Regions from separate parts of the Homo sapiens genome. Here regions 2, 3, 4, 5, 6 and 7 are each linked to region 1. Evidence: promoter capture Hi-C in 16 types of primary human blood cells and fetal thymus (Javierre and others, 2016). All regions are on one chromosome and are shown on one strand. Each heading gives the region's core, a stretch centred on a gene start or on the middle of the fragment in contact. The rest is flanking DNA. Distances are from core to core; before and after follow the strand shown. Region 1 holds the start of AGL (amylo-alpha-1,6-glucosidase and 4-alpha-glucanotransferase). Region 2 overlaps CDC14A (cell division cycle 14A). Region 3 overlaps CDC14A (cell division cycle 14A). Region 4 overlaps CDC14A (cell division cycle 14A). Region 5 has its middle 45 kb from the start of EXTL2. Region 6 overlaps CDC14A (cell division cycle 14A). Region 7 overlaps CDC14A (cell division cycle 14A).

The links. The method cuts DNA at HindIII sites, captures the fragments that hold promoters and counts their contacts. A CHiCAGO score of 5 or more calls a contact.
Region 2: a contact is called between a fragment that was not itself captured here and the fragment with the promoter of AGL in region 1, in 2 of 17 cell types (M1 macrophages and fetal thymus). The highest score is 5.6, in M1 macrophages.
Region 3: a contact is called between a fragment that was not itself captured here and the fragment with the promoter of AGL in region 1, in 1 of 17 cell types (activated CD4 T cells). The highest score is 5.1, in activated CD4 T cells.
Region 4: a contact is called between a fragment that was not itself captured here and the fragment with the promoter of AGL in region 1, in 2 of 17 cell types (total B cells and M1 macrophages). The highest score is 5.9, in total B cells.
Region 5: a contact is called between a fragment that was not itself captured here and the fragment with the promoter of AGL in region 1, in 1 of 17 cell types (activated CD4 T cells). The highest score is 5.6, in activated CD4 T cells.
Region 6: a fragment that was not itself captured here is called in contact with the fragment with the promoter of AGL in region 1 in 1 of 17 cell types (neutrophils); the score reaches 6.5 in neutrophils.
Region 7: a fragment that was not itself captured here is called in contact with the fragment with the promoter of AGL in region 1 in 7 of 17 cell types (non-activated CD4 T cells, total B cells, activated CD4 T cells and 4 more); the score reaches 7.6 in non-activated CD4 T cells.

The regions. Positions count from the first base shown.
Region 1 is chr1:99,848,514-99,852,773 of GRCh38, reverse strand. AGL (amylo-alpha-1,6-glucosidase and 4-alpha-glucanotransferase) reads right to left here and starts at 2,413. Exons shown (of 34, transcript NM_000642.3): 1 at 2,359-2,413; 2 at 1,650-1,799. The coding sequence starts at 1,731. RefSeq lists enhancers at 1,319-2,292, 2,943-3,092, 2,293-3,267 and a silencer at 2,443-2,762. The HindIII fragment of the contact is 4,640 bases long and covers 529-4,260 here.
Region 2 is chr1:100,453,118-100,457,274 of GRCh38, reverse strand. CDC14A (cell division cycle 14A) reads right to left here. Exons shown (of 16, transcript NM_003672.4): 8 at 1,783-1,870. Among named protein-coding and RNA genes, the nearest start is that of GPR88, 83 kb to the left of the region's middle. The HindIII fragment of the contact is 2,637 bases long and covers 375-3,011 here.
Region 3 is chr1:100,492,981-100,496,987 of GRCh38, reverse strand. It overlaps CDC14A (cell division cycle 14A), which reads right to left. Exons shown (of 16, transcript NM_003672.4): 12 at 2,058-2,170; 13 at 939-986. Among named protein-coding and RNA genes, the nearest start is that of GPR88, 43 kb to the left of the region's middle. The HindIII fragment of the contact is 3,003 bases long and covers 275-3,277 here.
Region 4 is chr1:100,426,523-100,430,565 of GRCh38, reverse strand. All of the region lies in intron 5 of CDC14A (cell division cycle 14A), which reads right to left. Among named protein-coding and RNA genes, the nearest start is that of CDC14A, 76 kb to the right of the region's middle. The HindIII fragment of the contact is 2,601 bases long and covers 1,120-3,720 here.
Region 5 is chr1:100,847,646-100,851,980 of GRCh38, reverse strand. No RefSeq gene overlaps it. Among named protein-coding and RNA genes, the nearest start is that of EXTL2, 45 kb to the left of the region's middle. The HindIII fragment of the contact is 954 bases long and covers 2,572-3,525 here.
Region 6 is chr1:100,510,216-100,514,599 of GRCh38, reverse strand. The region is part of intron 15 of CDC14A (cell division cycle 14A); the gene reads right to left. Among named protein-coding and RNA genes, the nearest start is that of GPR88, 26 kb to the left of the region's middle. The HindIII fragment of the contact is 1,643 bases long and covers 711-2,353 here.
Region 7 is chr1:100,472,482-100,476,573 of GRCh38, reverse strand. The region is part of intron 10 of CDC14A (cell division cycle 14A); the gene reads right to left. Among named protein-coding and RNA genes, the nearest start is that of GPR88, 64 kb to the left of the region's middle. The HindIII fragment of the contact is 4,684 bases long and covers 1-3,811 here.

The DNA of each region.
Region 1 (4,260 bases), core at 1,164-3,663:
CATGTATTATTAATTTTGAGTCTCAAAACCTAGAAAGGTAGAAGAACAGAAATTACCACTTTCATCTCACCAATAAATAAATTAATGCTCAGAATTGGGGCCATGCCCGGTGGCTTATGCTTGTAATCCCAGTACTTTCAGAGGCCAAAGAGGGAGGGTTGCTTGAGTCCAGGAGTTCAATATCAACCTGGGCAACATAGTGAGACCCAGTTTCTACAAAAAAAAAAAAAAAAAAAATTAGCGGGGCATAGTGATGTATGCCTGCAGTCCCAGCTACTTGGGAGGCTGAGGCAGGAGAACTGCTTGAGCCCAGGAAGTTGAGGCAGCACTGAGCCATGATCATGCCACAACACTCAGCTTGGGCAACAGAGTAAGACCCTGTCTCAGAAAAAGAGAAAAGGAAAAAAAAAAAAAAAAAAAAAGAAATGAATGCTCAGAATTAATGTAACTTGCCCCAAGTCAGCTTGTTAGCAGCAGAGCCAGGAGAATTCTGGCTCTAGATCTACCCGTCATCAAATGCTGAAAGCTTCCAAGAAGAAGAAAGCTCAAGGCTTTTCCTCCAAAAGTAGTCATTAGCACAGAGGCAACAGTTGAGGCCATGAGACTGTGTAACTAATTCTTTGAAGGAGAACAGAAAAAGAATTCCTAGCAGATACCCATAATTAATTAAAAAGTGAAAGGAAGAGAGCCTAGTAAGAGACACCAAGTTGACAAGAATATGCAACAGGGGAGGGGGAAAAAAAAATCAAAACCAGAAAAGTGCAGAGTCAGGAAAGCCAAAAATGGAGTAGGTACTCAGTGATTTTAAATGCCAAAGTTGGAAAAAGGCGCGGATTTGGCATGAAGATATCACATTGTATGTGTGAAATTTTTTTCAAAAATTTAATTCTTAAAACATTAGCGAAATTTAAAAATTCCTTTGAAATGTTTATGACTAGCAACATCCATTTGGTACATTAATAAGGGGGACTGGATTTTTCATATATTACACTTCTTCAATGTTGAAAAATTACAAAGGCTAAGAAAATAAAACATCTATTAACTAGCCTTGTAGAAAAGTAATTTGATCTTTTAAATACAGATCAACTATATATAGTTCAACATAACCAGATGAGTTATTGCACTTTTTATTTGCTAAGAAAATATTTTCAGCTTTTACCTACTCCACATTTGAGAAGTTTTTGATATACATAAACAATAGTTTACTATACTTTTTGCTGCAATCTATTTTGTCAATTCAAAGGTTCAACAAAGGAAAAGAGACAGTTATACAAAGGCAAAACTACATGCATACCCAAAGCAAAATTACATATGAAGTAATTTACCAAGTTTTAATAGTAAATGTTATTAGAAATAATATGGGCAATCTTCTGATCATATATTTAACTTCAATCTTAAGTGGGAATTAGTACGCAGAGAAAAGAGAACTATTTTATCCTTATCCTAACACGAGGGATATAAAATATTTTTAATTCAAATCAACATTAATTAGTGATATATGGAGAACACAGCACCATCTTTGCACAAATCAAGTTTTAGACCCTTGGAAATAATATTTATCTTAGAGCTTTAAAACATTTAACAGGACTGCCAATGAATTAAAAGTTTAAAAGACGCAAATGAGCAAATCAAAACAACTTGCTACTGACCTTGTTCAAGTCTGAAGAGGGTCTTTTCCAGTTTCTCCATTTCGTTCAGAAGTAAAATTCGAATCTGTTTACTGTGTCCCATTTTGGCTTCTAGAGGATTTGAAATCTTTCATAAGAATTAAAAGAACTCCACAGTCGAATGAGTTACCCCTATGAAACAAAAAGGAGTTAAAATATCGAAAATAACTATTGCCTTAAACTCTCCAGAGCTGACAGCGGCACTTACATGTTCGAAGTGTGTTTTATGCCTAGCAGAGCAATGAAAGAGAATGAATCTTATAACTATTAAGATTCGAGAAGGCAAATTAATAGTTGTTTCCTGCCTTTGAGCACAACGAATAAGACCGAAATAAAAATGCTGTATTACAGATTCTTACAATTAAAAAATTAAAAACCTAGACCATTCTCAGAGAAAAGCAATACACTTAGGAAAGCCTGAAGTCAGGGGGACATTCCCAGCCCCAAGCCACAGGGCTCTGGAGACTCCGAATGGCACTTCTGCTTACAAGAGATTAGTCTGCTCAAAGATAACAGGTGGGCAATCTCCCCATTCCCAAATTCGGGTCGCCAGCCACCAATGGGGAGATGAGAACAGAGGGAAGCAGTTGTTGCCTCTGGAATAGCTGCCGTAGACAGAAGATGTACAGAGCGAGCTATAGATAGAAAGAATGCGTTTCCCCGCGAGGCCAGCGGCATTCCTAGCACTTACGCCGAGGGAGTTATACGTGCGGCTTCTGGGGCACTGCAGGACCCGCGACTCTGGTGCTACGGTCGGGGGGAGGGGACGGGGAGAAACAGAAGGGGAAGGGCTGGCTGCCCAGCCTCGCACAGAAGCCGCAGCCCAAGGAGGGCCGGGCGCCGTGAAGGGCAAAGGGAGGGGCGGCGAGCGACCGGGGCAGCGCCGAGGCAGCTGGGTGAGAAGCAGGCAGAGTCTCAGCGACTTCGCCTCGCGCGGGTTCCTGGGCGCACCCGGTACCCAACCTGGCCGTGCGCGCACTCGCCCCAGGTGGGAGCGGACCGTACCTCTGGCCCACTTCCGGGAGGCTCGACCCGCCCGCCCCGACCGCTAGTCTCGCGAGAGCGTGGGCACCGCACCGTCTCAGTCGGCTCCGGGCCGGGGGACCTGGAGCCTGCTGCGGCTGAGGCCGGGAGCGGCGCTTTCTCCTTGCCCTGGGGAAGGTGCACCGGCCAAGGCGCGGCCTTCCTTTAACAGCCTGCGAGCTCACAGTTGCACATTAAAATCCCGCGGTACCGGCTGCGAGCTAGGTTGAGCTGCACAGTAGGATCTTTTGCTGGGAAGGGCTGAATGGTGAGGGGCAAACGACCTGGCTTCTGGTGTCTTTTGTGCCACCACGTGTTTTGTTTCTTTGTTTTGATAATTTTTACTTGGCCTAAGTTCTCAGAGTCCTGATTTCTAAGTGTCTAAAATAAGGGGCCTGGCTACAGCCTTGACATTCCAGCCAACACGTGTCCATCACTTCTAGTGCTAACAGACAGGACACATGTTCCTGAATGCAGACCCAGTAGGTAAGGTGTGGCCAGTCTGCAAACCATCGAGAGTGCAAACACCACTGATACTTAACGGTGTCCGGGTGTACCTCATGTACACTAGATAGACCCGGAGATCGTCTGAGATTAAGCTGCACTTATGTTAGGCCAGTAACTCAGAACTTTTTGCAGATGCTTAAGGAGATTTAATGCCTGAGGGTAAAGGAAAACCCATCTTCCAGGGCTTTTGGAGGGCTCCTAATGGTTATGAGAAAATGGACAGAAGATTTGGTTAACTAAGACTTGTGGCGTGTGGAGAAGATTCTTGCATTCTTTATTGTGGAATGACTGTAGGTCCAAAGAGGATATAAGTTAAAAAAAAAAACCCCATACTGAAGTATTTGTTTATTTCTGTAGATTTCTGAGAATGGCTAGTTGCAAATGGTCCGTAACTGACTTTGGGAACCCACAGCTCATTTTCTGGCCCCTACTATTTGCCAGGCACATAAGGTGCTGGGAATGCAGCAATAAAACAGTCACTGCCCTCAAGGAACTCCTACATTTTATTGGTGGGAGACAGATAAATTAAATAAATTATACAGGATATAATATATCCTATATAATAAGAAGGATATGTTATATCCTATATATAATAGGAAGGGGGAAGTGTGGAAGAGTAAGCAGAGAGAGGTTTGCATTTCTAAATATAACGTTCAGTAAAGTGATGCCAAACTGCGAGAAAGAAGAAGTCTAAGGTAGAGGGTTACATGTAGAGGTATAGGAAGTACAAAGGCCATGAGGCAGGAGCATACTTGGTGAACCGAAGAAGATCACCATAGCTGAGTGAAGAAGAGAGTGGTAAGAGATTAGGACAGACAGATGGGGCAGGAGAAGGGATCAGGAGCACAGACGGGTGACCAGATCTTTTAAGGCTTTGTAGGCCATTGCAAGGACTTGGGCTTTTAAACTTTGGAAAAAAAGCCATGGAGATTTTGAACAGAGGAGTGACATAATCTGATTGACCTTTTAAAAGGATCGCTCCGCAACTTTATGGGAAATAGTTGAATAAACTGTAGAGTGTAGCAAGGAAGGAAGCAAGGAGACCAGTTAGAAAGCTATTTTA
Region 2 (4,157 bases), core at 444-2,943, 610 kb before region 1:
TTTTTTCAAAATGCATGTATCCATAGAATATACAATGTCTATATACATAAAAACTTTTAAATGGCTTTTACAATTATATCTCTCAATTTCTCATTAAGAAAACGTAGTCAAACACATGAATCACAAATGGTGAAAGTCTTTCGACTTTGCCAAATACCCAACAACAAAACTACTACTGAAACAATATCCCTACTAACATTTCCTGGGCCTGAGTCAGATAATTTGCACAGAAAGCAGGTTTAATCAGTCTTATCTTGAAAGGCCAATTGTCAGAAAGCAGTTTCCTCAGGCTCTCAACATGTAATTCCTAACAACCCAAAATGACAGAGGTTAATTATTGAATGTCCAGACCAAAAAAGATTATTTAGCAAGCTTATAAGTAAGAAGATCAAATTCTGACTTCACCATAGAGGTATCCTGTTTGTGAGCTTAACTCTCTAGACCTGGATTGCCCATTCGCATGGTAAAATCATGATTCAAGCAGAGTTCCCTATTAAATATGTCACAGGTATGAAATGATAAGCATATTTATGAAAGCTCAAATTATAAAACCTAAATGCATGAATAACAATATACAATGAAACTAGATTCTAGAATATGATGATTAAAGAAAAATAAATCTTTTTTTTTTTTTAAGAGACAGGGTTTTGCTATGTTGCCGAGGCTGGTCTTGAACTTCTGGCCTTAAGCAATCCTCCCACCTCAGCCTTCCAAAGTGCTGGGATTGCAGGCACATGCCACCATGCCCAGCTGAAGAATAAATCTAGACCAGAGGTTTCAAGTTAGGTTCCCTCAGAACACTGGTATTCCACCTCTATGATCAGATAGAAAAAAAAAGGGGGGGGGATATTTTGTTCATGGATATTTTTTCAATTTTATGTACTTCTCTTGTAAATTATTCTTGAACCTCTGTTGTCTATCATTACTTGTTTTCTAGGGAATATTAGTAGATAGAAAAAATTAGTAAGTACAAAATAAGTCTTAATGGGAAAACTTGCATAGCTGATCATGTTTCATTCAAAAGGTTTATTTTTAGTTTTGTTTTTATTTTTTTCCTAAATATGTATGCCCATGGCAATAAATTATGCTGCAAATAAGTAGTTTAACCACTGTCAGCTAGAAAATTGTACCTAGTTGTCACAATGGAACTAAGTGTATCAGTGTAGTGGCAATGTTTAGGAGCCCTCCTCTGGTTTGGAGTACCAGTTCTGCCTATTACTTTGTGACCTTGGGCAAATTCTCTACTAATAAGGCTCAATTTACTCCTCCCTAAAATGCAGATAACAATATCTGTATCTCATAGAGTTGTGTTGAGTGTTAAAAGAGATAAATGCTGTGATCTGTGTAACTAGCACCTAAGTATTCAGTAAATGACAGATTGTCTTCATCATCATTATTCAACATGGTGTTACCCAAAGAACATCTTGATGTGTAGCACTCTACCAACAAATAAATCTGAGAACCACTGAAAGAATACAGCAATCTGCTTATGAGTTTGACCAGTTTGTTTCTCAGATTCTTCTCTAATAATTGGGGGTCAGGTAAAGTGAACATCCTATTTATGGCAAGCTAAAAATTTGTTAAGTTCTAAAACAGTGATTATAGCTCCACCTACTGGAAATACAATATTTAACACACTATTACTACTGTTCAATTTTTTAAATTATGAATAAATATTCTTTGGAGAATATTACCAAAGAAAATAATTATCTGAGGAAGTTAAGAAACTTAGAAAGATAAATCAAAATAAATGTTTGGATGGTAAAGGAAAAAAAAACCTACCATTCTCAATTTTGCTTTTAGGATGTGGTCCACTAAATGCTAAAAATTTTCCTGGAACAATCCAGTTGAAGTCACCATTTTCAACTCGCTGGCAGAATTTTGTAAGAAAAGAGAAGAAAAATATTTTATAATTCTTATACAATTTAGGAAACCCTTACAAATAAAACTGCTTTTCACTCTTAGTACTAATTAGACATACATGTAGACAAACATAGCTTAAAATAAAAACATGCACCTGATTCTCAAAATGCTATTTAGGAATTCAATCCGCTTTAGAAAAACTTGTGTCTAGACTGTATGAAATGTTTAGAAACTTTTATTTACGGCAGAGGTATTTTGCATAAAATGTTTGTTTCCTGGCCACTGCAAAGAAATGAAATGGAAACAAACATTGCTTGTCTTGGCGATAAATAAGAGAAAATGGGAAATATGAAAACTTTCCATGAATGTAGTAAACATATTTTAAACAATGAAAAAACATCTGTAAATATCAAGCTCCTGATGAATACACTTCCAATTTTTTTTCTCTTTTTATAGGGCTGTTATCTCTTGTCAATGCTGATTTTTAGAGGGGGAAATGGCAAAAGGCAGGAGCGAGTGATATTGGCGCATCCATTCCACAAACCAGAGTCAGCCAAGCTGTACTCTGGAGGATAACAAGATTCAAGCAAGGGACATACATAGAGTCAGGTGCTCCTCCACTCCAGCTAATGAGACACCTTGTAGGAAAGCCAACTGAACACAGCTGATCTTCCAACTGAATTTTCATGTGAAAACTCTCTTTTTAAAATGTTGACTTTTTAAATTAGGTTTTTAACTCCTGTGAAACCAAATAAAACATGCCCATTGGCTGACTTTGAGCACCAGTTATCAGCCTCTAGTCTAAACACGCTAAGAGATCCTCAGAAAAGGCTTAAGAAGACCAAGAAAGTAGCCAAGCACATTCCCATGGCTCCATCATCTCCCCCATTTTCTTCCCTTCCCCATGTGCCTCCGAACCATGGGACACTGGGGCACGAGTAAGGTTACCCCAAATTTTGCAGTCATTAGAAGGCATTTGTGCAATGCATCACAAAATATATATATCACCTCTTCACTTACGCTGTCTTTACCACCACCACCCCCTCCCCACCTACCCCTACCCTTGCCCTCCTTGTCTCCATCCTCAGGGCAGGGAAGCAATGTTGTTCTCTTCACTGGGCCATCCGTTACCATCCATATAAAAAGCTTTCTCCCCCCATTATATGGCAAGGACCTCAACAGTAGAAAACTGACCCAATATAGACTCTGTACTCTACCATAAGAACACAATAAATATTTGTTAAACAAATTGGAATATGGCCATCAAAAAAAAACTGGAGCCATTACTTTAATTACTTATATTACCCATTATCATTTCCATGAAAATCAAAACTTGGCTATAAAATATAATTGTCATTTTTTAATGCAGATTTTTTTCCCAGTTATAAAAAGTTATATGTGAAACTGTGCATACCATCTTATAAACATCTGAACTGCATTTAATCTAGTTGTAATAAACATAATATCTCCAGCTGGGCGTGGCGGCTCGCGCCTGTAATCCCAGCACTTTGGGAGGCCAATGCAGGTGAATCACCTGAGCTCAGGAGTGCAAGACCACCCAGGGCAACATGGTGAAACCCCGTCTCTACTAAAAATACAAAAAAATTAACCAGGTGTGGTGGTGTGTGCCTGTAGTCCCAGCTACTTGGGAGGCTGAGGCAGGAGAACTGCTTGAGCCCCAGCGATGAAGGTTGCAGTGAGCCGAGTTTGCACCATTGCACTCCAGCTTGGGCCACAGAGTGAGACTCTGTCTCAAAGGAAATAAAAAAAATATCCAAAATGCCCTAAGTAAAATCTAAGAAACCCTGAGTGTTATGATTGCACATGTGAAATTAAACCTCAAGCATAGCTTCTATTTATAACAACTTAAATAAAGAATCTAATTATGGCAATTAAAATTTGCTTGTTTAAATAAAAGTCTCAAATTAATTATCCAATATCTCTCAAGTAATTATTAAGCTTAACACAGTATTTGAAAATCCAAGAATAAAGGTATGCACTAATCATCAAGAGACTAAAACCAATTCTTTATGAACAATAAAAGAAAACAGGTTTCTACGGTCACTATTTCTGTATCCTTGACCACCAAGTAGGTTAGATAAATACGCTCTGCAATATCTGCTTATTTGGATTACAGAAATCCATTTGGTTAAATAGCAACCTTTTATAATTAATCATATGGAGAGAGGCAAGGGGATCCCTAAGATACATTCATTCACAGAACCAAAAGAATATGTTTGCAAATCCTCCTACCCAAAAAGATAAATAGTAGATAATATTGGGTTATATTCAGC
Region 3 (4,007 bases), core at 527-3,026, 640 kb before region 1:
GCAGGTGCTCAATAAATATTTGCCAAGTGGACAAAAAGGAAAAACTGACTCAAATCTGGAGAGCCAGGGCCCAGTCATAATCTTAATACCAAATCTGTTTGATCCTAGATAAATCATTTAATATAGCTGAACTCTGTTTTCCTCTCTGCTAGAGAAAAGCTTATTTACTTGTAGACTCTTTCCTTCATTATCCACCCACCAAACAGCAGCTTAAGCTCATGTTTTGCCTCCAAAATAAAAATGGAAAAAGTTCTACAAAGAAGCAATTCAAGCTTCTCCAGAAGCTCCAGATGCTTAAGCCCTCTTTGAACTGCCCTCACTAAACAGTCCTAAACCTAAGAATGAATAAGAACCAGCAGGTGAAGAGCTTCTTTCCCCTATTTCATCAACACTCTTGGCCAAACATCTCTGCTGCTCTCACTGAGTGCCACACCAGATCGTGGTACCACTCCCGGAGGTTTCAGGGGACATTTTTCCACAGAACAAAACTAGTGTTTCCTCTTGAAAAGGAAGGTAGAGAAGAAAATAAGACTAGAAAATAAAGGAGGGGAACAAATGCATGCTGATTGGGAAAAAATAGAAAGAGGACCAATAAAAATGAAAACAATTTAAGCTAGATCTATCACTAGATCAAAAGGAGAAATGCAGAGCACCTGTAGTTTCTTAGAGACCCCCCTCCACAATGTGCTAAGAGCACAAAATACATTGATGTCTCTACCACCACCACACAGTCCTGTGGGCATGCCAGCAAAAAAAAAAAAAAATCCTTTTCATGGTGAGCATTAAAAATAAGGCATAAACAATATGGAAGAGAAAGGAAGCAATTTAAAAAGCAAAAAGCTGTGTACAGTTGATTTTCGTGTTTGAGGCTTGGGAAACATGGCTAAAAGGAAGCATATATTTACAAGCTACTAGACATTCAACCTCATTGGCAGTACCTGAAAGGCTGGGACACTGCTCTTGGATGTCCTTTTGTATCATCTGACCTGCGGAAATCAAAGACAGATGCTCACATATCACCAGGGCACACGTTTTCACAAAGACCACAAGGCACATCAAATGGTATCAAACCAGTAAAAATATTAAATTAGCAAAAGGGAGAAACCTTGCAAATGGATATTAGATTACCCAGAACCAGGCTTGCTATCCCCTTTTCTCATAATACTGCAGAAAATGATAACCTCATCTTTGAGCAATATGAACCTTTATTCCTTAGATCAGGAACTCAGTAAAGACCCAATCTGACTACAGTGTTATAGTTTCTCCCAGATTACACATGAAAACTAAATTCCCTGTGAATCTGTTTGGTGTTTACCATACCGGCAAAACATCCTTCTGCTATGTGTATCTCTTATTTATAAGTCAAAAAAATGTTGCTGCTTACCATTATATTAATTTGTGGACTGGGGCCTTGCCACCCAGTATATTGTAATTTTAAAAAATGATGATATTTACAAACGTTTGCACCTTTTGATTCCCCTTTTTTTAAACCCAATCTGAGCTATCAGCAGGTTTCAAATGTGATCAGAAGTCAAGTCCCATCATTGATTCTGGTGAGTAGTTTGAGACTTCAAAGTCAAGATGGCTTATAACTTTACAGGCACAGGTAAGAATTGCTTATTCAATTTTCAAAAATAGAAGGTAAAGCTGAGGAACTAGCTTAGATTGCCAGAGACTGGCATACAATACTTTTATATACACTATGAGTCAATACAACAGCCTCAGCACACCTGTGAGGATCCAACACAGGACAAGAAACTCATTCACAGCAGAAGGGGAGAAATCCAAACAGAATTTGAAACAGAGTCCCAGAGATAACTGCTTTGCAGCTTAAGGTAGAATTCCAGAGACTGAGATGGCAGCAGTTGCTTTCAATAAACTTCTAAACTTTAGCTACTCCCAACAGTGATAAAATAATCAATAAACAACACAAAATAGTAAACTTAGTATTTGTAGAACAAAATTCAAAACAGAAGATTACAGATTAAAGAGAAGATGAAATGTTCTATTCACAAAGGGAAGCACACTATAAATTGAAGTGTTTAAAACAGATCTACCTAAATGCACAGGATGGTGAGGTACGTGGCTGTCTCTGACTTTTTAAGGCACGTAGTTTGTCTCCCTGGGTTATACCATTTTTCATTTCCACATCATCATCTTCTAAGTTATCCTGGAAAAAAATACACGTTCCATAGAAAGGTCAAAATTTGGCTTTATATAGGTTTCTTAACAGACTACATATATAGATACATTTTATACAGATTATCTTAATATAGATTAAGTCACTAAAGGTACTGTGAATCAGCATTGTCAAAGTTTACACAAAAGAACACTCAACTATTTGCCAGTTCAACAGGCAACAAGTCAAATTCCAAATCAATGAAGCATGGGAATAGATGTGGTAGAATATACAAGGAGCTGTTTGTTACACTGGACAGCAACAGAGGAGACTCTCCTGCAGACACAATCATACGTTGGAATATAGCCTAGATACAGAAGGGCCCACAGATGCAGTACAAATATGTTTTTAGATACTACCAGGACCCATCACTGCAAATTCCATAACCTGTTTACAAAAATACAAGATAAAAATACTTTAGGATATCTATACAGTAAGTTATTAACACAGTAATCATGTAACACTAGTAAAAGCACACAAGCCCTTTTCAGAAGGATTTAAAGGACCATGTTCACTAGATCTTTCCTTCTGAAATAACTCTTTAAAGTTTGAAAAATAGAAGTACCATGCTAGTCTCTTCAAATGCTAGTCTCTTCAATAGCCCTGATGCAGGGGGAGGCACTGGTACCCTTATTATCGATGAAAAAAGGACATACTCATGGAAGTTAGGAATATTGCCCAAGCTCCCATAAGCTCTTAATGACCTTTGTGTGACTTCAAAATTAGATTTATTGTCCCAAGATGCAATGTTCTTTCTAAAATATATGCCATAGCACACTGTCATTGCACCAGTGAAGACTGTATTTTGCCTTTTTTCCTCAACTGAAAAATCAAAGTGCTTGGATTTGCTAAAATCCCTCCCAGCCGTAATAGTCCCCTCCCCTATTTAAAACTAGAACTCTTGTTTGATGAAAAATGTACTTCCATCAAGTCACATTTGAGTCATTTCTCATCGCAATACCTCCTCAATCCCGGCCACCTATGTTGGGTTCCACAGTAAAAAGATCAAACCTCACCATCACATCTCTGAGTTTAAAAAAGAAATAAAGAAATGCAAAGCACAAGGCCAGTGGGAAAGAAAGAATAAGGACAAAAGCTTCCTAGAGGCAATCCCTTAAAGAATGGGTGCAAGTGACGCAGCCCAAGATCCCAGGAAAGGTCGTCCTGTGCAAGAATACCAGCTCAACAGTCACAGGATCATGGAGTCTTCATGACAGAGGATTCTCTTAGAGTCTCAAGTTGCACTTCTAAAAAATCTCCAGAAATCAGTTTTACCATTCAGTTCTATCCATACAACCCCAATGGGGGAGGAACTTATTACCATCAAAGGAAGCCTGCAAGAACAGAAATCAGGAAGGTCTGACAGCTAGGCTTGCCAGTGGGATGGTGCACCTGAGAAGGTGAGCTTAGCTTCACTAGGCTGCAGTAAGCACTCAACGTGCTGGGATGTTAGCAGTTACTTAGCACAGAGCCAGAGTTTCCTGAATATGAGGTGAGGCCAAAAAACACATAGGTCCTCATGAGAATGGCTAAGAAAGCTTCTAGGAGGACCTGACAGAATCCTTGCCACAATCAGTTTCATTGTCAACTGGGTGCTTTTGTACCAGGAAAGCTTATTTGTTCCTCCAACTAGGAGGATCTTTATGTTTCCCACTAGAAACACCTTCAAAATTCTAAATATAAAATGATTCTCAACCTGTAATTCTAAAATTCAACCTTTCAGGTAAGTATAAAGGTAAAACAGATATAAAAATTTACCTCCCATACAATCTTTCTGAGAAAACTATTACAGGATATGCTCTTCAGGAAAAAAGGAAAGATAACATGA
Region 4 (4,043 bases), core at 1,171-3,670, 580 kb before region 1:
ACCTACAGTGGTTGACCCTTTTGAGCCTTTGTTTAAAGACCTACAAGTTCTGGCATGCCCAGAAGATCTAAAATAATTACTTTTGAGATTTCCCATTAAGACTCAGCCACAGAGCTCAGCAACTGGGATATCACTAAGGGTCATCCCCCAAAACACAACAAACACCTCCCTCAACACAAACATTATGCATCCATTTTAATGACAGATGTCATAAAAGGATTGCCAGTGGGAGGGGTGTGAATCCTCTGTTAGAGAAGATTGTCTGGCCTCACAACAGCAAGAAAACTTGGATATTCCTGTTCACATTAAATAAAATACCATGATTTGATAAGCCATCTATTTCCAAGACTCTCAGGAAACAGCATAAAAAAAATGTTCCACAAAATGCTAGCATATTATTTTAATCCCAAGAGATGTTTTTTGTTCCACACAGGTGTGGATCAGGAAATATGCCTCAGAGTGTTTCAGAACAGGAGTTCTGCTGGATATTAATGGAAAGTATGGGGCAGGAGGAAGAAAATCAGTACTTTGTAAAATTCTGGGCCAGATGCAGTGGTGCATGCCTGTGATCCCAACTACACAGGATTTGAGCCCAAGAGTTCAAGCCCACCCTGGGCAACAAAGTGAAACCTCCATCTCAAAAAAACAAAAAGAAGAAAGAAAATTCTGGGTTATACAGAGCTAAACAGGTTACTTCATTACTCAGAACCATTCAGAATCTTTAAAACAGAAATTTGCTTTGTAAATCTCCAAGATGGAGAGTTTTAAATTTACTTGATATATATATATACACACTTGATATATATATAATATATATATAAATATACTTGATATATATATAATATATATATAAATATACTTGATATATATATATATATTTTGCCATGGTACATCTTACAGAGCAGGAGTTCTCAACCTTGACCACACATATTGGCATCATATATGCAGTTTTTCAAAATCCCAATAACTCTGACTTCACCCTTGACCAATTACAGCAAAATTTCTGGGCACAGAATCTAGGGATCAGTAGTTTTTTAAAGCTCCCCACGTATGCAGATAAGTTTGAGGATCAACATAACTTTGAGAAACACCTGTAAATTCTAGCCTCTTCTCCAAGCTTTAGGAAAAAACTAAAGGGATAAGACATCGAATGTTCACAGCTTTATTCCATTACTGTCAGCACATTACCCTACCTAACCTTACCTCCAGACTTAGTCATTATTTTTCATGCCATGCTCTCTGGATATGTCTTCAGAACTAGATCCCTGGATGTTATTTATTGTCAGCATAATTTTATTCCCTGTTTAATTGTATATGTCATTTTATTTTATATTTATTTATTTATTTATTTATTTATTTTTTGAGATGGAGTCTTGTTCTGTTGCCCAGGCTGGAGTGCAGTGGCGCGATCTTGGCTCACCACAACCTCTGCCTCCCAGGTTCAATCAATTCTCCTGCCTCAGCCTCCCGAGTAGCTGGGACTACAGGCACATGCCACCATGGCTGGCTACTTTTTTTTGTATTTTTAGTAGAGACAGGGTTTCACTTTGTTGGCCAGGCTGGTCTCGAACTCCTGACCTCAAGTGATCGCCCACCTCCCAAAGTACTGGGATTACAGGCGTGAGCCACCGCGCCCGGCCTATATGTCATTTTAAAAACTGGCTTTTAGGAGATTTAGGAATTATCACCAATACTAAAAAACGTACCAACCTGATACATATGGACCAATAAACAAAGAAATAAGTATAAAATGAATTTAAAAGCACAAGAGACATCTTAAATAAGAATTGTACAATTTAGATTGGTTATCTTTTCAATGTTTTGCGGGACTTTAAATTTTCACAAATACTGTTTTGTGAGCACCAACAATGTAGATTTGAAAACCACTGCCACTGACTGCCATGAAAACAATCTGGACATTCCACTAAGGGTCACTGGTCTCCTGGGGTTTTAGACAAGCTGAGATTAATACGACTTTGTTTGCTCAATAGTATACACTATAATTTAGTAGTACACTGAAAGGAAGAGAACCTAAAAAGATTCATACCTAGATTGTCAATTCAAACTCTGCTGAGTCTGACCCCAGAACTGAAAGGCCTCTTGTTCCCTTGAAGGCTAACTGCCAAGCCAACACTGAAAATGGATGACTCAAAGAATTAAGGTAGATGAAAAACACCCCTTTCCCCTGATTTTCACCTAAAGTCACTCTTAATCAACACATTGGCTATTCTCAGTAAAAGTGAATACAGTTTTTGACACACCTACCCTCCAATTCAACAGAACATCCTGAGACTGACTCACAAGTGACATCACAACACTCACTGCTGTCACACAAGCCAGAAATTCAACTATCTCTAAAGTCAACTATACTTAATTTAATCAAGAATAGGCAGTTAAAGCTACACAATTCTCGTTTTTTGTTAATTTTAACTAGGTGAATAGAATCTAAGTAGGAATAAAATCAGATCATTCTTTTGGTTATAATAATGTACCCATACTGTGAACTTCGTATTATATATACTACCTAACATACCATTATACAACCTATGCCATACGAATAAATAAAATTAGCACCTAAAATCAGTGCCTGAATTGCTGTTCTCCAGTTTTCATCCTAACATGAAAGGCATTCCATGGGGCCTATTCCTAACATCTTCTCCTACCCCCCCATTTCAGAGTTAAACCTCCTTCCTCAGTATTCCCATAACACCTCTCTCCTAATTCTAACAAAGCACTGTAACTGTTTTACACACCTATACATGTATACAGACTATACACTGAGCTCTCCTGCAGCAGGTACCAAGTTGTCCTAAACATCTTTTGATCCATAGGACTATCACAGTGACTGGCACTGAAAAAGCAATAAATATATTTTAGTATACTTGCTCCCTCAGGACACAATAGGAAAAGAACCAACCACAGCCCTCAAGAGAAGAGTCAGCCATGCAAACAAATAATTATAATACAAGGTGTTTGCTTTAACGTTGTATGTAGCCTTGTAATACATAAAATGTAATAGGGAATCACAGGCAAAGGACCTGCCAAGCCTCTCCAGAAAAATGAGGAAGGCTTTACAGAAGTGACTGCTCAGATAAATGTTTGCAAAGTGAAAAAAATTTGAAAAACAGCATTATTTAAATTCACAGTAGCCATAAAACTCTTTTATTAGAAAGAAACTAAAATATATAGCACAAATGGGAACACAGACATTTCAGTGAAAAGTGTATATGAACATACCAACCACACCTTCAACAAGCCTTCAAAATCATCTTCATTTTTAAAAAATTTTAAATAATAAAACAATTACATCCAAATAGAAATTCCTTTAAGGCTTCTCATTTTTAATTAAAAGTGTTAATATATCAGCAGTTGAAAAAATCTAGACAATGAAGACAAAAGTGTAATTTCATAAGAAATGGGATTTTTTTTTAAACCTGGTGATAATAAAACCCAGATTATAATGAAGGCCAACGCAATGATGGCTGCCCAGAATTTAGTATGAGGATGATTCTTGATAGAAGTCCATTAGTCTTAGTTGGCCTGAACTGTAGACTAAAAACAACTCACATCTTATCTTAGCATAATAAAAAAATTAAGTTTCCAGAAAACTAGTAGTATTCTTTCAACTAAATTCTTCACTAAATTATAAATGTACTACTTTGTGGTATTTTCTGTTTCAAATGTATGGTTTATGAAGATTCTAGATTTAGAAATGAAGCTTAATGTAAATACAACTCTTGGTATCCTAAGATATCAAAAAGATAGAACTTAGAGTTACATTCAAAGGCATACTTTTAGTAGGAAATGGGTGCATATCTTCATTTACTTATACGTGCATAAAGAAATTCTAGACTGATATCAAATCAACTAATACCAGAAGTTACCTGGAAAGGACTAGACAGATGAGGATCAAGGATGGGAGGGATAATTTTCACTTAAACCTTCCTATATAGATTTTTTAAATTTCTGAACTATGTTAATGTATTTATATTTTCAAATATTTACATAAAAGTATTTGAGTGAAAAATATTTGAAAAATAGGC
Region 5 (4,335 bases), core at 1,799-4,298, 1.0 Mb before region 1:
CCATGTCTCTGTCTGATAGTTGTTATTCTTATTACTGTGTTATGACTAAGTTTTTGGCATTGCTAATCCCACATCTTTGATCTCAAAACATTTATTATTCTTTGGACCTTTCATCTTCGTTTACAAAAAACCCAAAAACTTGACTCTTTGTAACTACATAAGCCTGAATTTAAACCTTGGCTCTACCACATAACCTCTTCAGTCTTTATTTACTCATCTACAAAGCGGAAGAATTAAATCTATTTACAGGGTTGTTGACAGCATTAGGGCAAGTTTATGTTATTGTGGGTGCCCATCACAATGCCTGGCACATAGTGGATAATCAAAACATAGCAATTCCTTCTCTCCATGAACTGATTTTTCTCATTTTTAACTTTCTGCATTATTTCTTTAAAAAACTGAGATAAAATTTTAATTTAATTTAATGTAATTGACTTTTAATCCATCTTTTCCACAACATTTCAAATTTTTATTTTCCAAAAGAAGTTAAAATCGTTTTGAATCCTCCAGCCTCTTTAAAGTACTGTCCTAGGGCCTACATGGAATACGAGACTCTATAAAACATCACTTTCTCCTCTCAAAATAAACCTGTAATTTACTGGTAGTTTTAATTTTCATGTAAATTACTATTTGGGAGCATTAACCATCAAATTTCTTATGTATATTCTATAGTGAGTATGAAGTTCTTGGGTCATAAGTATGAGCATTTAAGAACATAATTTTATTTTTATGTAACAACTTGGTTTTGATTTTAAGATCTTTTTTTTCCCCAGTAGCAGATAAAATAATTAGATCAGTTCTGGGTAAACTCAGTTGTTAGGGTCTTCTCTCCTCTCTGATGTGAAATTTAATTTCCAGGAGCTTTTGGCATGGTGGTTTCTGATGGGGGTGATGGAAGGATAACTGGCTCATGCTTGCATCTGTCCTTCATATTGGCTCCCATGAAGATGTTCTAGCCCATGGAGACTTGCACAAACCTTCCTGATGGCATCTGCAGAGGTGTCCCTGTTCCCACCTGCACCATAGTGGTGTGGTCCCTACTGCTTCCCCCTCATCAGGGAGTCCCCTCATTATGACCATGAGCCCCTTGCCAATTCTCTGGCTAGTTTCTGCACCCCTTTTGAAAAGCAAGAAAATTAATTCCTCTCATACACCACTATTGGCTCTTAGGAAGCTCAGTAAGGTGACCTTGGGCTTTAGGTGCCCACACCCACATACACAACCACATCTGCTACTAAGCCTGTTCCATGACGGTAGACGGAATTTCTGGAGACAAGGTTGTCTTCAAAAATTCCCCATGATCTTACTATTCAAAGAGTGGACCATGGATTATCTGCATTAGGATCAACTGGGAATGTGCAGACTCCTGGGCCACATTTCAGAACTACTCAATTAAAAGTGTATTTTAATAAAATCCTCAGGTAATTTTTATGCACATTGAAATTTGCAAAGCACTGATCGGAGATACAGCATAGAGTTTCAATTTACCCTCAGAACCTTGACTTCATCTAAGGATTCTATTGCTCTCATCTCCCCGAGGGGCTAATTACTGAGGGAGAGGTATGGGGAAGTAGGGTCTGGTGATCTTTTCTAAGAGAGTTTTGTCAATGTCTTAACAATCTTGTTTCCCATCTCCACTATATCCCTTTTCTTCTCTTAGTCCAGATAAAGGTTTAAGTTATTTTCTTCTGAGAGAGGAAAATGCTCCAGCAAGTATTTGATTTAATCTTTCTATCACATAGGTGGGCATTTTAAACTGAAAAGCCAAGAATGTGTTATATTTATTTTCTGATTGTGCTGTAATTCCCTCTCCTTCCCTTCTTCCTCACATCTCTGCTTGGGCCATTGGAACAATTCAGTTTAGTTGCCTGGATAGGGGAGGTTCAGGGTCAAGGTAATATAGGAGAAAGCAATTAATACTTGTCCATATCATCTCATGGGGATAAGGATTTTATTTAGGTTTTAAAATATTTTAGACTCAAATGGATTTATGTTTTCTAGAAAGCCAAACTACATTTCTGAAACTGTAGTTCATTCTGTCATATTGAAAGTCCTTCTATAAGGCTGTGTTTTCTGAAAATGGGCTTTGCTCATAGAATTTTTGTGTGTAGATAGTGAATATTGGGCAAGTAGACTGATAGAAAGGACTTAAGCCTCTTCTGTCTTCAACAGTCCAGTTTGGTGCAATAGTTGATGTTTCAGATAGGTCTTCTTTGACTCTTTAAGAGTGAGCTATGCTCACTTTGAGTTCCAGGTATTTACTTCGATGTTAGCATTTAACACTTTGGTCACTGTATCCCTTATTAGACTACAAGATTACTGAGGACAAGGATCAGAGTCTCTTTCACTGTTTCATCCCCAATGCCTAGCCCAGTTCCTGGCTCATAGGAAAAACAAACCTGCTTGGATGAATAAATGAGCAAATTTATTGGTATTATTCAAAATTTTCCTCACTGAGCCTCAATACATGAGAGGGAGAAAATAAATATATAAAGTGTCATGGAAGTCTTTTAGTCCAATCACTGACTCAAAGTAAGAATCCTATATATAGAATCTCTACAGAGTCAAGCTTTTGCTAAAATATTTCCAGAAGAGGGAATATACTTAGGTTTTTTCCATTTATGGATCATTCACATTTTTAGAAAGTTCTTTCTTTATTGAATCAAAATCTGCCTCCTTAATTCTGTCTGCCCTTTGGAGTTTTATAGATTTCCATTTCTATAGTATAATTCTCCAAGTTTGCTAAAAAGACACAAGTTCAAAAAGATTTAAAATGTAGTAAGGATGGCTCATCTTGCACAGAAATCACCAACAGCTGGAACATCTGCTTTCTCCCTGATAAAATAAATAGGCTTTGCTTTGAATTTAGGTATTTATGGAACTGTCAGAAATGGAAAGGGAGAGGAATATGTGGGTTTGGCTACCACATTCAAGGAGGGAGAATTACCTTGATTTTTAGCCTTTGATGTGAGAGCAGCATCGTTTAGGTGCTTTATGATATCTGTCATATAACACAATATGGGGATTCATTTCTGGTTGTGGTATTTTACATTTGAAAATGCTCATCAAAATTTCTCTATGTGCCCTTGTTCTATGCCCATATAGCTACTCCCTACTGTCATTATCACTCCAAATTCTACATTTGAAAGACCAGAATTACCTCCTCCTCTTAACCAACTGTTTCTACCAACTACTCTATCACTGGCACTATTATTCTCCCAAGAGCAAAAAATACGTGGTTCATTTATCCTGCTCATCCCCACATCCTCTCAGCTACATAGTCGTGAGCATTTCTCACCTGTAGTGTTTCTTACATTTACTTCTTCCTCTCCAGTAATGATGAGGAGGCTCTCATTGCTACATGATTCATTTGCTGCTTCCCTTTCTCACTCCTGCTCCTATCCTGTTTTCGTGAAGAAGACATAGCACAGCTACATTATTTTTTTCTTGAATTCCATTGTCATCAATCTTTCACCTAATTTAAAATCCCAAACATATGGATGACCTGGTACATCAGTCTAAGCTTCTCTACTTCCATCTCAAGGTCCTCCTTCAACCCCAAAACCCTTAACTCTCAAATTGTCCAGGCTCATGTTAGCTACTGCACCACCCCATACAACCCACCCCAAACTCCAAGCCCACTCCAGTTGGTACCCTCTTTCCTTGCAACCCATCTGCACCCCAACTCATCCACAGCTGTGCTACATTTGCATTTGTATTGATCTGCTCTCTCTTCTGTGCCAATTCTTAAGTTATATTTTCCCCACAAGTTTTTATTCCAGTTATTCCAGGCCTTATTCTTCTCCTTCTCTTTCTATCACTTAACATTTTTATTGTGAATTATGATTTTAAAACAGGTAAATAAAACATGTGCACAGTTTTAAAACAGGTTGTGAAAAGAATACCCATGTAACTACCACTCAGATAGGAAGGAGAGTATTCTGGGAACCCAGTACATTTTACAGTACTAATAGTCTGTACCTCATAATTTAGTACTTATGGTAATTAAGTATCATCTTGCCTTGTCTTATGGCTTAAATGTGCCATTGTATTCCTCCTACTCTATTGTAGGCTATTGAAAGGCAAGGGCTCTACAGATTATTCTTTAGAATATCCCACAGTGTCTCAAACTGTGCTAAGTAAATACTACATATTCAAGAGATGCTTGTTCATTGATTACAGACTAGGAAAAAGCAACACTTAGTACAAACAATATGTATGTTTATGTCCAAAAACTAACATTGTTATATCTTTCAAACACATGTTAATCTTTAGGAAATAGCACAGTTCTAACGTCTTAGCTTCTTTTTTTCCCACATATTGTCCTCCTTGGTT
Region 6 (4,384 bases), core at 283-2,782, 660 kb before region 1:
GTCTGACTCTAAAGCTCAAACCCTTAGCTACCATAGTTTAATGTCTCAAGACAGCGAGCATTTGCCTTGTGATCACTACATATTCAATCCAACATTCTCTATCACCCTAACATAGACAAATAATGACCTTAGGCAAGATATGATTCTGAGTGAATAAAAAAAATTATTAAAAAATATTTGTTGCATTAAAAGATAAATACATTTTTGAATGATTTTCATCAGGCCTGAATTCAAAGAATTTTCAGGAATATTCTAAATTTAAAAGAAATTTTCATTATAAGAACATCCATGCTTAAGTATTATGAGTTGATTAAAGTTTTAATTCTGATTGGCCAATGTTTTTAGTTGTTACAATAATGAATTAATGAATCTGAAATACAAAATAAATTATAACAATGACAGTGAAGATGGTTATAAAGAAAGTGAAAATAATTTTTATACCTGAAGTACAAATATTATTTTAGAAGTTAGCCCTTGTTTATATAACCAAGAGATTTTAATTTCTCAAATATAATATTCAAGCTCATTTAATTAGTAAGCTCAACAGAGTTATAGTGAGTTAGGACCAGATCAAGTTTATTATGAATATGTGGTATTCTTATTGTATGAATACCATAAAATTAATAATGTAGCAATATTCAACCTGAAAAATAAGGATAAAATTGCCTTACATTTGCAGCCCCCAAAATTTTTATGTCAAAATATAAGCTTCCATCAAGAAGTCTTGTTCCCTGAAAGCAGTAAGATTTGACATAAAACAAAGTGTTAGGTAAGGAGATCAAGACAATTTGTTCTGTTCTGGAAATCTGCTACTAATCTGTTTTGGCAGATGTAGGTAGTAACTTTAAAATTTTAGCTATTCTGGAGGTGTTTCTTTTTTAAACAGCCCAGTTACCTAATCATGGCAGGAACATGTCTAATAATTACAGATATAAATATTGTACAGATGGTTAATAAATAAAACATGTTAGCTATCAAAAACAGCAAATTATAAAGAATAATGAAAGATTAAGGTCCTTGACAGCAAATGAATGTAACGATGTCTTAATGTTCAAATAACTTGAACCAAAGGATCCAATGGCCTGGAATGTTAGCATCCTACTAAGGTCAAAATCCTGATTCAAAATGTTCATGGACTTTTTTGCCACACTGACATTTTCTTTCCTACATTTTCCCCAGTCCTTTAAGGAATAAACAATAGTGTACTAGTTATCCCTGGTTTAAGTTCTAACCACAGAGGCAAAAAGAACCTAAAATAAAAATGGTTTGTTTTAATGTGATTGAAATTAAAGGAAAAAATACATGCTTGGCAACATGGTATTTTATATACATAACTATAGTGTTTTAAGTTTTAATGAACAAATACAACACTGGGGAAAAATAAATACACCCATAACTGCCTCTGTACTCCTATGTCTCTTTAAGCCTTTGTAATAGAGTTTCCAGTTTTTGTATTGCTCACAAATTAACACATAAAATGTGTGCATTGATACTTATTTCCATAACTGTGGTTTCACAATACTGAAAGTATTTTTTATTTTTTATTTCAATAGGTTTTGAGGTACAAGTGGTTTTTGGCTACATGGATGAATTGTATAGTGGTGAAGTCTGTGACTTTAGTGCACCTGTCACCCAAGTAGTGTATATTGTACCCAACATGTACAATACTGAAAGAATTTGCCTCTGTTAATATGATACATATTTCCTCCAATAACACTAGATGAAATGTAGCTGGGTATGGTTTTATTGGCATCATATTAAGATAAAAGGATGAAGGTTTGTGTTAAAATCAGGTTCGAAAGGTGTGTGTGCATTTTTCCATAGTGTTCTCTGTGCATTTCAGGGACTTCAAGACTTAAAAAGCCAATTTGGGCTCATTATAATGCTATATAAAATAGTCTTTCACCTTCCTACATGATTTTTAATAGATTCTTTTTTCTGGAGAAATTTAATATATGCTTTTCAACAATCACAAAGAGCTCAATTGTTAGATGACAGATTGTTGACACCCAGCTTGACTCAGCCAACCATTACATGAGTGTTTTCAGTTCATCTGAACACCAAAATTATATTGATGCAAACTCAGTTAAAATTTATTTTCTCTTATTTTAGTAAAGCCACATTTCTAGAAAAAAAATACACAACTCCCAGATTACCGTATATTAAAGCTAAAGCTGGAAACTTGTTTGTTTTCTGTTAGTGCTTCATATGCTAACAATGAGACCCAGGCTCCTAAACACTTTAACATTCACGAACCCAGATACATTATCTGACTTTTAGTTCAATAAGTATTTATTAGGCACTTATACTGTACTGTGGAACCTCAGGAAACAAGAGATGTTTCTGAGAAGCTTAAAGGAAAGCAGAGGAGAGAGAGAATCATGTATAACTGACTATAATATGAGAGTGTCAGCGCTCCTAGGAGAGTCGAGAAAGGAAGAGCCATTCTGTTTAGATGGGTCACAAATGCTTATCAAAAAGATAACTATCGAGCCAGGTCAAGAAATACAAAATCAAGCAGAGAAACAAGGGAAAGCAGAGTGGACTGCAAGTGCTAGGGTTCAGGCTTAAGGCAGGTCGTGCCAGGTAGAGCTGCTGGAGAGGAGGCTGGCAGGGAGGCACACAGCCCGACAGGGAAGAACCCTGAATGCCAAGCCAGGGGAGCCAGACTTGACCCAGTAGGCAGAGTGCAGCCACTGAACAAAGCCAAACATGAGAAGGATTTGATTAGCTCTGTGTCTCAGAAATTTAACACTGGCAACAGTATAGAGGAAAGATTAAAGGTAAGAGACAGGAAGACAGAAAGGGCTATGCGATAGTTCATGAAGACCCCAATTAAGGCAGCAGTGGTAAGAATGGAAGGACAGAGGCATTTTAGAGGGAGACTTGATAGGACTTAGTGACTGGTGTGACAAGGGAAAGGCAGGCAGAAGTAGTGTCAAAGCTGACTCCAAATGTCTAGCTTGGATGACTGGATGAATAAAGATGAGATTATTCGGCTAGGAAACCAAAGAGGAGCTGGCAATGGAAGGAACCTGTATTCTCTCTATCCCAGGTAACACCCAGAGGAAGCTGGGAGTGTAGGTCCAATGCTCAGGAGGTTACCCAAAGAGAAAGAGCCAATGTAAGGACAATCATTAAGGGGCAGGCTTAGGAGTAGAAGGACTAACAGGAGCCCATCAGATCTGGCCTTGAAGAAGTCGGCAGTAATCTGCGGGAGAGACTTTCACCAGAATGAGGGGCCACCTCCCAGCTGTAGAGCGGAGGAGTATCAAAGAGACAAGGGAGGGGGAAGTGCAGGCTTCTCTTTCCCCAAGTGTGGCCATAAAGGAGAAACTGTGAGAGGAAGACAGGGCCAAGGGAAGACTCCTCCCCAGCCCCCACCAGCCTACCAACTTGGATGTGCACATTTGCAGTTGAGGAGACCTGCAAACGGAGGGTAAGAGGCTGAAGATACAAAAGGAGAAGGAAGTGGTTAGGGCAACTTCATGAAAGATTCTGGAAAGAACAGTACAGGTAGGTAGAGTTATCATTGGAAAACAGTAGAGTTTCTTTGGAATTAAAAGGGAAGGAAGAAATGGATGAGTCCAGATGCAGATAAACTTTGAGACAGAGAAGAGGGAAGTTAGAGGAAATTACTTCTGATAAATTCTATGTTCTTAGCAGATCTCAAAGCAGGGTCAGCTGGCTCTGGAGATCAGGAAGGGGTTGTGTTGGTGAAAAATGTTAAAAAGTTTTGGAACAGCCAGGTGGGGAAGAGAAAAGGAGCCAAAAAGGGATAAAACAACTAATTAGGAGCACTGAAGGGCCGGGTAAATTAGAAACACATTTGAGATGGAGCCAATTGGCAAAGTTATAGGATTTTCTCCAACAGTGCTCACAGGAGAGAGATGAGGAACAGATACAACAGATGGTTGAATTGATCTAATTTTGGAGGCTGGTAATCAAGTGGTTACAGAATGTCCAAGTAGCAGTGAGAATGTTGGAAAAAGGAAGCAAAAATGACTATGCAGGCTGTAGAAGGAAAGAGGTGAACTGAGATGGCTGGGGAAACAGGCAGGGTCAGAAAGAGGTCATGGAGCAGAGTTAGGAGGAGGGGGAAATGTTTAAAGGAGGCTGGCAGGATTCAAGATGTCAGAAGCAATGTGCTAAGCAATAAGAAGGTTTATTCAATGAATTTTCAAGTGAACAAAAATAAAGATAACTGAGGTTAAGAAAGTTTAAAATAAGATCACTGTGACACCTTGGGCAAGTTATTGCCATTCTGAGTCTTGATTTCCCCATCTGTAAATAGCAGGTTAAATAAATAAGATAATGGATATAAAGTACCTAATACCATGCCAGGCACATAGAAGGTATTCAAGAAACAGTGGATGATGACAAT
Region 7 (4,092 bases), core at 220-2,719, 620 kb before region 1:
TGGAACCTTGAGACCTAAGTAACGAAATGGTGGTGAGTTCCTCGAGTTTTCCTTTTGCCTTATATAGCCTAGTCTTAGGGCTGAAGAAGATATGATTCAAAAATGCCAATAGAGCTGATTTTTTTTTCAACAGAGTCCTGCTGTGTCGCCCAGGCTGGAGTGCAATGGCACAATCTCGGCTCACTGCAACCTCTGCCTCCAAGGTTCAATTGATTGCTTCAGCCTCCGAAGTAGCTGGGATTACAGGCACATGCCACCATGCCCAGCTGATTTTTGTATTTTTAGTAGAGACGGGGTTTCACCACATTGATCAGGCTGGTCTCAAACTCTTGACCTCATGCGATCTGCCCGCCTCGGCCTCCTAAAATGCTGGGATTATAGGCATGAGCCACCGTGCCCAGCCCAGAGCTGATATTTTTAAAGCCCGAAGAAAAGCCTGCTCTGTCTAGTCAAAGGAACAGGAAAAGGGTATCCTAGTAGACAACAAAACATTTCAACAACTGCTCTTCTCCAGCCAAACCCCACAGGAAATAAACTGTGGCCCTAACCCTGCCAGCCAGCAAAGACTGAGAGGGGATCCTGGATTTCCACGCTGCCAGGCTATAGGTAGGCACCCCTTTACCCTTTGTCAATCCCTCGCCACAGAAGTGTCAAAGAAGGCTAAGTTGGGAGTCAGATAATGAGATCCCCCAATTTCGGCCCCACTCCTCACTAAGGTAGTAATGGTGGAACCTGGAAGTCCACCTCAACCAGGCAGTGACCAGCAACCCTCCTCTGTCAGCTGGAGTGGTGTCACAGGAGGCCTAGTGGAGAGTGAAGACTTTCACCAACACCCTTCAGTAACAAGGTGACCCCTATCACAGTGTCAGTGCAGACCCGATGGAAAACTAGAACTCCCACCTCCACCCACCAGCAACAAGAAGCCCCTCAGCCTTGGACATCAACAGAGGCTGAGTACAGAATCCAGATTCCTGCCTCCACCTGGTAGTAGCAATGTGGCAACCCCCTGCCCCCCAACCCAGCTGCCACCACCTTCCTCTGCTGAAGCAGTGTAAGAAGCCAGATACAACAGAATGTTTTAGTAAGATCCAGAGTCTCAACATACTAGGAAAATGTCCAGGTTAACATTTTCTCACATTGACATTGACTGAATGAAAAGAGATGATCGCTAAATGCCAACACCAAGATGACAGAGATGTTAGAATAATTTGACAAAGATTTAAAAGTAGCCATGATAAAAATGCCCCAACAAACAATTACAAAGACACATGAAACAACTGACAAAATAGGAAGTTTCAGCAAAGAAATAGATATAAAGAAAACCAAACAGAAAGTTTAGAATAGCATATAACCAAAATGTAAAATTCAGTGAGTGGGTTAAATGGCAGAATGGAGAGATGAGAGAATTTGTAAAGGGGAAGATAGAATAGTAGAAACTACCCAATCTGAATAACTAAGAGAAAATAAACTAAAAATAAAATGATGAAGAGAGTCCCAGAGAGCTGTGGGACTATAACAAAAACCTAACACTCATGTCAACAGAGTTCCAGAAGGAAAGGAAAAAGAGGACAGGGTTGAGAAAGCACTTAAGTAAATAATAGCTGAAAACCTTCCAAATTTGACAAGACATAAACCTAAACATTCAAGAAGCTGAGTAAACCTCAAAAAAGGATAATTCCAATGAAATCCACACCTAGACACATTGCCAAAATACTGAAAACTACAAGGAAGCAGAAGGAAATAATAAATATAAAAACATGAACCAATGAAATTAAAAACAAAAATATAAGGAGAAAATTAATGAAACAAAGAGCTGATTCTTTGAAAATATCAATAAAATTGTCCAACTTCTAGGGAGACTGACAAAGGGAAAAAAAAATACACAAATTACTAACATCAGAAATGAAGCCAAGAAAATCACTACAGGCTCTGCAAACATAAAGGAATACTTTAAAAAAAAAAAACACACTCCACAAACATAATTTTGACAATTTAGATGAAACGGACTAATTCCTCAAAAAACAAACTACCATAATTCACCCAATATGAAATGGATTATTCAAATAGCCTTATATCTATTAAGGAAATTGAATTCATAATTTTAAAAAGAAATCCCCAGGCCCAGATAATTTCACTGGAGAATTCTACCAAGCATTTTAAGAATTCACACCAGCTCTCACAATCTCTTCCAGGAAACAGAGAAGAACAATTCCCAATTCATTTCATGAAACTAGTATTATCCTGACACAAAACCCAGACAAAACAGACAAAAAAAAGAAAACTACAAACCAATGTTACTTATGAATATGGACATAAAAATTTTTAACTAACAGAGTTCAGCAATATATAAAAAGAATTACACACCATGACCAAATGGTGTTTATTCCAGGGACATAAGCCTTCTTCAATATACAAAAAACAATCGATGCAATCTACCATATTAACAATCTTAAGAAGAAAATCATGTGATCATATCAATCAATGCCAAAAAAGTATTTGACAAGATTCAACACTCATTCATGATAAGAACCCTCAGAAACACAGAAATAGAGGGGAACCGCCTCGACCTGATAAAGAACATCTATAGAAAACCTCAATTAACATACTTAATCCAGGTGAATGCCTGGATGCTTTCCTTCCAAGACTGGGAGCACGACAAGGATGTCTGCTCTTATCACTCTTACTCATCACAGCGCTGGAAGTTTTAGCCTGTCCAACAAGGGAAGAAAAGGAAACACAAGGTATATAGATTAGAAAGAAAATAAAATTGTCCTATTTGTGGATGAAAAAGCAATCCCCAAGAATTTGCACATACATACACACACACACACTCCCATATAAAACTCCTAGGTTTCGGGATACAAAATAAACAGAAAAATCAATTGTGGCCAGGCAGGGTGGCTCACACCTGTAATCCCAGCACTTTGGGAGGCCGAGGTGGGAGGATAACCTGAGGTCAGGAGTTCAAGACCAGCCTGGCCAACATGGTAAAACCCCATCTCTACTAAAAATACAAAAAATTAGCCGGGCGTGGTGGCACACGCCTGTAATCCCAGCTACTTGGGAGGCTGAGGCAGGAGAATCACTTGAACCCAGGAGGCAGAGGCTGCAGTAAGCCAAGATCGTGCCATTGGACTCCAGCTTGGGCAAAAAGAGTGAAACACCGTCTCAAAAAAAAAGAAAGAAAGAAAAAGATAAATCAATTGTATTTCTACATACCAGCAATGAACATATGGACATAAATACCATTTATAATTGCTAAAAAAAAATAAGTACTTAGGTGTAAATTTAACAAAAAAGGACTTGCATCCAGAAAACTACACAATGCTGATGAAAGAAATCAAAGAAGATCTAAATAAATGAAAAGACATATCATGTTTATGGATTAGAAGACTCAACAATAGTAAAGATGTCAATTCTCCCCAAATCGATATAGAGGATTAACATACTTCCTATTAAAATCCCAGAAACATTATCTGTAGATTTAGACAGGCTTACTCTAAAATGTATATGAAAAGGAAAAGAAAGTGGAATTGCTAAGAATATTTTGTTAAACAAGGAGAAAGTGGAAGGAATCACTCTTCCAATATTAAGGCTCACTATATAGGTCCAGTAATCAAGAGAGTGTGGCATTGAAGGAAGGAGACACATAGGTCAATGGAACAGAATAGAGAACAAAGAAATAGATCAACACAAATATATCCAAATGATTTTTGATGCTGCTATAGAAAAAATTCAGTGGAGAAACTGAATTTTCAACGAAAATGGTACTGAAGCAACTGGGCATGCATAGGCCAAAAAAAAAGAAGCTTGACCTAAGTCTCACACGTTATGAAATAAACAAAAACCTCAAAATCCATCACAGACTTAAATGTGAATGTAAAACTATAAACTTTTTAGAAAAAAAAATATGAGAAATCATTGAGTCTAGGGCTAAACTAAGAGTCTCAGACAATATCAAAAAGAAAAAAGTGATAAAAGGGATTTCATCAAAATTTAAAACTTTTATTCTGTAAAAGACCCTATTAAGAGGATGAAAAGACAAGTTATAGACTGAAAAAAACCTTGAAAAACATTTACCAGACAAAGGAC